2 separate regions of the Homo sapiens genome follow, and region 1 is linked to region 2. Evidence: promoter capture Hi-C in 16 types of primary human blood cells and fetal thymus (Javierre and others, 2016). All regions are on one chromosome and are shown on one strand. The core of a region is centred on a gene start or on the middle of the fragment in contact, and the rest is flanking DNA. Distances in the headings are between cores, read along the strand shown.

What was found. Contacts are between HindIII fragments. The CHiCAGO score rates a contact against its expected background, and 5 or more counts as called.
Region 1: the fragment with the promoter of SCGB1C1 here is called in contact with the fragment with the promoter of IFITM5 in region 2 in 14 of 17 cell types (endothelial precursors, total CD8 T cells, activated CD4 T cells and 11 more); the score reaches 11.2 in endothelial precursors.

The regions. Positions count from the first base shown.
Region 1 is chr11:191,660-194,359 of GRCh38, reverse strand. It overlaps SCGB1C1 (secretoglobin family 1C member 1), which reads right to left and starts at 1,282. Exons shown (of 3, transcript NM_145651.3): 1 at 1,206-1,282; 2 at 449-648. The coding sequence starts at 1,260. The HindIII fragment of the contact is 15,974 bases long and covers 1-2,700 here.
Region 2 is chr11:298,197-301,201 of GRCh38, reverse strand. It overlaps IFITM5 (interferon induced transmembrane protein 5), which reads left to right and starts at 1,676. Exons shown (of 2, transcript NM_001025295.3): 1 at 1,676-1,897; 2 at 2,489-3,002. The coding sequence starts at 1,712. The coding sequence ends at 2,701. RefSeq lists an enhancer at 2,346-2,505. The HindIII fragment of the contact is 13,921 bases long and covers 1-3,005 here.

The sequences.
Region 1 (2,700 bases), core at 33-2,532, 110 kb after region 2:
CTCCATCAGGCAAGCAAGGCCCTCAGTGGGGGGGGGTCTGGCATATTGCTGCCTATCTCCTCCCAGCAGCTGGGAGGTGTGTGTGCACATGTGATGGTGTGCACACATGTATGTGTGTGCATATCCCAGTGTGAGCATGTGGGTGTGAACGTGTTTATACATGTGTGCACGCAGTGTACATTTCATGTCTGCACCTGTGTTTGGATCTCTGTGTATGTTCACATGTGTGCATGGAGGAGTATCCCACAGACTGGGGAGGAGGTCTATGGAGTCTGGGGGCTGCTCGGTGGACAGGAGGTCTGGGGTGTCCACCTGAGCTGGCTGATGCGGGTGCAATGTCTGTGGGTGGTGGATGTCTGTGGGTGGGGTAGGCTGTGTGGGTGCTGTGTTGGGTGGTCTTGGTAAGGCTGCAGATCTTTAGAAAATGGGGTGCCCGCCGCCCTCATACCAGCAGCTTGACCAGCTCCGCCTTGTGCATTGGCTGCAGGCCATCTATACAGGACTTGAGTTCAGTCATTGCTGCCTTGGCATCTTCGTTGACATTGTACTTGCCCAAGGTCCCCTCATAGAGCTCCTCTGGGGTCCCCACCAGTAGTGTTTGCAGGAAGTCCATGAAAAACTCATCGTTGTCCTCCCCTGTGGCCATCCCTGCATCACGAGCGAGATGATGCCAGGACAGGACAGGGTGACTCTGGTGCAACCACAGCCCTGGACCTGCCCCAGGGCTCCAACCTCCATGGTCTCCAGACCTTCCCCTTCAATGCCCACCTCTCCTCCCCAGGGCTTCCTCCACAACACCTCCAACTCCACCTTGCCCGAAGACCCCTCCACATCCCCCTTAATCTTAGCTGCTCCAATTTCCACTCAGCATTCCCTGGGATCACCAGGGAAGGAAAGTTAAGCTCCTGGTGTGGGGGAAATTTCCCCTGATGAGAGGCTATTATGACCAGAGGCTTGAAGGGTCAGGTCAGGCTGGACTGGGCTGGGGTAGGAGACACTGGGCTGGTGTTGGGTCAGCTGGGCTTTGTCCTTGGTTGGGGTGGAGTAGGGTGGGCGCGGGTTCTGCAGGGTCCTTGCCCACTTCTGTGACAGAAGCAGGTGGAGTGTTCACTGCAGAGGCCCGATGCCAGGATTTTACCTTCTCAGGTACCCCCCACTCCCCCCCACCCCTGAATGTTCTGGAAACCCCAGTGGCACAGACTCACGGCAGATGCAGAACAGGGTGAGGGCCACCAGCAGGAGGGCACGGCTCCCCTTCATGCCAGCAGTCTCAGGAGCTGCCTCCAGCCAGAATCCCGGGATTTTATGCCTCACCGGACAGCACCTCTCCTAGAGGGCGGACCGGACCTGCCCATTAGGACCCGGCAGCCAGCTTAGATGAGGTTTGTTCACATCCCTGGCCCCCAGTGGGTGCCAAGCAGCAACAGGCATGGAGTGGCTGTGTGACAGGTGGTTGGCAAGCGGCTTTAGGGTGTGTGAGAGAGAGAACAGGTGTGTTAGGAGGGAACACTGGTGAGAGGCCATGCCAACTGATCGGTGAAGAAGGCAGTGGGTCCTGGCCACCAAGGGCCTCTAGTCATGCCTGCCCTTGAGGCCGAGAGTGGTGGGATCTGGGGTTGGTCCCACGCCTTTCTTTTAAGGTGCGAATCCCTCCTCTTATCAGTGTGCTGTGTGATCTGGGTCTGCATCTGGGGGTCTCCAATCAGGCAGGGGCCCCTTACTACTCAGATGGGGTGGCCGAGTAGGGGAAGGGGGTGCAGGCTGCACGAGTGGACACAGCTGTAGGACTACCTGGGGGCTGTGGATCTATGGGGTGGGGAGAAGCCCAGTGACAGTGCCTAGAAGAGAGAAGGTGGCCTGAGAGGGTCTGAGGAACATAGAGCTGGCCATGTTGGGGCCAGGTCTCAGCAGGAAGTGAGGAATGGGACAGGCTTGAGGTACATCTTCCATCAGTAGCCAGGATAGCAAGGAGGGCTTGGGGTTGCTATCCTGGGGTTCAACCCCCCAGGTTGAAGGCCCTGGGGGAGATGGTCCCAGGACATATTACAATGGACACAGGAGGTTGGGACACCTGGAGTCACCAAACAAAACCATGCCAAGAGAGACCATGAGTAGGGGTGTCCCAGTCCAGCCCTCTGACTGAGCTGCATTGTTCAAATCCAAAGGGCCCCTGCTGCCACCTAGTGGCTGATGGCATCCACATGGCCCTGGGCCACACGCGTTTAGGGTCTCTGTGAAGACCAAGATCCTTGTTACATTGAACGACTCCTAAATGAGCAGAGATTTCCACCTATTCGAAACAATCACATAAAATCCCATCCTGGAAAAAGCCTGGGGGATGGCACTAAGGCTAGGGATAGGGTGGGATGAAGATTATAGTTACAGTAAGGGGTTTAGGGTTAGGGATCAACGTTGGTTAGGAGTCAGGGATACAGTAGGGTCACCGGTAAGGGTTAGGGGTTAGGGGTAGGGGTTAGGGTTAGGGTTAGGGTTAGGGGTTAGGGGTTAGGGTTAGGGTTAGGGTTAGGGTTAGGGGTTAGGGGTTAGGGTTAGGGTTAGGTTTTGGGGTGGCGTATTTTGGTCTTATACGCTGTGTTCCACTGGCAATGAAAAGAGTTCTTGTTTTTCCTTCAGCAATTTGTCATTTTTAAAAGAGTTTAGCAATTCTAACAGATATAGACCAGCTGTGCTATCTCATTG
Region 2 (3,005 bases), core at 427-2,926:
GGGCGTGGTGGCGGGAGCCCGTAGTGCCAGCGGCTCGGGAGGCTGAGGCAGGAGAATCGCTTGAACCCGGGAGGCGGAGGTTGCCGTGAGCCAAAATCACGCCACTGCACTCCAGCCTGGGCGACAGAGTGAGACTCTGTCTCACAAAAAAAAAAAAAAAAACAAAAACAAAAGAAAAAAAGTCACCCCTCTGCTCACTGAGGTGAATGCATATATCTGGTTGCCTCCTTTGGAGAAGCAAGTCAGAAACTCAAAAGAATGCAACCTTTGTCTCTTATCTACCTGCGACCGGGAAGCGCCTCCCCACTTCGAGTCTTCCCTGCCTTGCTTTGCATTGTCCTGCCTTTCCAGACTGAACCAATGTTCATCTTACATATGTTGACTGATGTCTCCTGTGTCCCTAGAATGTATAAAACCAAACTGTGCTCCGACCACCTTGGGTACAGATCCTCAGGAGCTCCAGAGGCTGTCACAGGCACATCCTCAATCTTGGCAAAATAATCTAAATTAACCGAGACCTGTCTCAGATATTTGGGGTTCACAGGCTCAAGCACAGCAGCAAGGAACCCCCCACCCAACCATCCCCTGCAGGTGGCGAGTGTGCGTCCTGGAGGAGGGAGGGCAGCTTGGTCCTGGGCACTCAGGAGTGTGGCCGACTGGGAGACGGGGAAGCTGAGCCTTCTGGCCCGGTGCAGTTGCCACCACTGCTCCGGGGAAGGCTTGGCAGAGGAGGTTGGGAGGGAGGATCCAGGGTCTATTGTTGGCACGTGGGTGGAGGTCCACAGAGCAGGAGTTGCGTGTGTGTGTCCAGAGCTGGGGACCAAGCCAATGTCTTTGGGGGGAAGTCTGGGCTGAAGACATAAATGTGAGTCGTCAGCACACACAGGCATCTACAGCCAGAGACAAGACTGGGGCGGACCTTGAGCCCTAAACAGGACCACTCACCACAGACATTCTGGGATCAGGGAGGGCAGCCGAGGAGGCTGAGGGGAGTGTCCACCACAGGAGCCCACAGGCTCCCTGCATCCCGACACCAGTGTTAACAGCTGTTGCTGGTCCCTGGGGGTTCCCCTGCCGGCTCCTAACAGGCTGCACCCCCTGGCTTTCCCCCCATGTGGTTCTCTCCTTCTCTCTCGCGCCCTCCTCCGACAGCCGCCCTCCCTGTCCCCCTTGCAGGGATGCCTGCGCTCCTAGGGCCTGGCGCTGGTGCTCTGAGAGTGTTAGGGGCAGAGTTGAGTTCTGGGAATGAAGGGGCTGCAGTTTCAGCAGCTCTGGTTCTGAGGAGGGGGCTCCTGTACATCCCTGAATTATGAGGCCCATGGCCCTGAGGCGACACCTCCAACTCTTCTTGGCCTGGACGGAGGGGGCTCTGGCCAGTGGTCTGCCCACTGCCCACTTGGCCAGCAGCCTTTGATGGGGGTGGGGGGATGGGTGGGGGTCTCTGCCACTGCCCGGCCGTAGCCTTCCAAGCGGGGGGCTCCCAGATGGGATGTCTGTCAGGAGGGACCCTGCTGGGTGGTCCAAGGCAGCCTCGGACAGGGGCTCCCTGGGGTGGGGGCTAAGGGGCGGGCCGCACCCTCGGCCCGCAGGCTGTAATTTGTGTTATATATAGCGTTGAGGGGCTGGGCCGGGAGGGCGACAGGGCTATAAGTGAGCGGGTGCCCACCCTCCCAGCACCAGTCTGAGTGTGGAAGAGACGGCGCTGGAACCCATGGACACGGCGTATCCCCGCGAGGACACCCGGGCCCCCACGCCCAGCAAGGCCGGTGCCCACACAGCCCTCACACTGGGGGCCCCGCACCCCCCGCCTCGAGACCACTTGATCTGGTCGGTGTTCAGCACCCTCTACCTGAATCTGTGTTGCCTCGGCTTCCTGGCGCTGGCCTACTCCATCAAGGTGGGCAGGGGCCCTACCGAGGTTGCGGGGGAGGCTCCACTACTCCATCAAGGTGGGGGGAAGGGGGAGGGATGGGGAGCTCCGTGGGGGGTCCTTGCCGTGCTGGGGGCCGCGGGGGGCTCTGCTTGTCCGTGAGGGGCTCTGTGGGCACAGCTATCAGTATGGCCGGGAAAGAGCTCCTCACGAAGGCAAGGCCGGGGGGCCTCTTCTTAACGGGGTCTGGCCCATCCAAGAGCACAGAGGCCATTGGGAGGCACCCACAGAGGTCTCTGCAATCAAGAGGGGGTTCACATGCTGTGGGCTTCTGGAACAGAGGTCCCTTTGACTTCAGCTCCTGGCTGGCAGGGTGGGGGGTGTCTCAGCACCCTGGGGGACCCTCACCCATAGAGAGCTCTGATAGGCTGACACTGGCCTGGGATGGCCCCCGGGTCCATAGCTGGGGCCCCAAGGAGTATCTCCTCAGGCCACACCCCTCCATCCAGATTTTGGGTGCAGTAGGGGCCTTCCAGGTGCCCAGGGTGTGGGTGGGGAAGGGCCCCCAGGCCCCGAGGACACATAGAGATCTGGCCCTGTGGTCTGGTCTCTCTGCAGGCCCGAGATCAGAAGGTGGTTGGTGACCTGGAAGCGGCCCGGCGTTTTGGCTCCAAAGCCAAGTGCTACAACATCCTGGCCGCGATGTGGACGCTGGTGCCGCCACTGCTGCTCCTGGGGCTGGTGGTGACTGGTGCCCTGCACCTGGCCCGGCTGGCCAAGGACTCTGCCGCCTTCTTCAGCACCAAGTTTGATGACGCGGACTATGACTGACAGGCTGGGTCCTGATCTGGGGCACTAGCCCCAGGACACTGACCCCAGGCTGCTGCCCCTGGGGCCCAATACTGACTCCCCGGAGCCTGGCCCTCCTTCTGTGGGGCCTCCATCCCTGCCCCATCCTGATCCTGGGGCCCTCCAGCCCCAACATGGGCACCTAAGGCTGAACCAGTCAGACCCCGGGGTCTTCACCCTAACCCGAGAGTTCCCGGGCCCTAACTCTGCCCCCGATCCTGCCCCTCCCTCCTCACACTCCAGGCCCCTCGGTTCCACGATTAAAAGTGCCTGGTTCCAGAAAGTG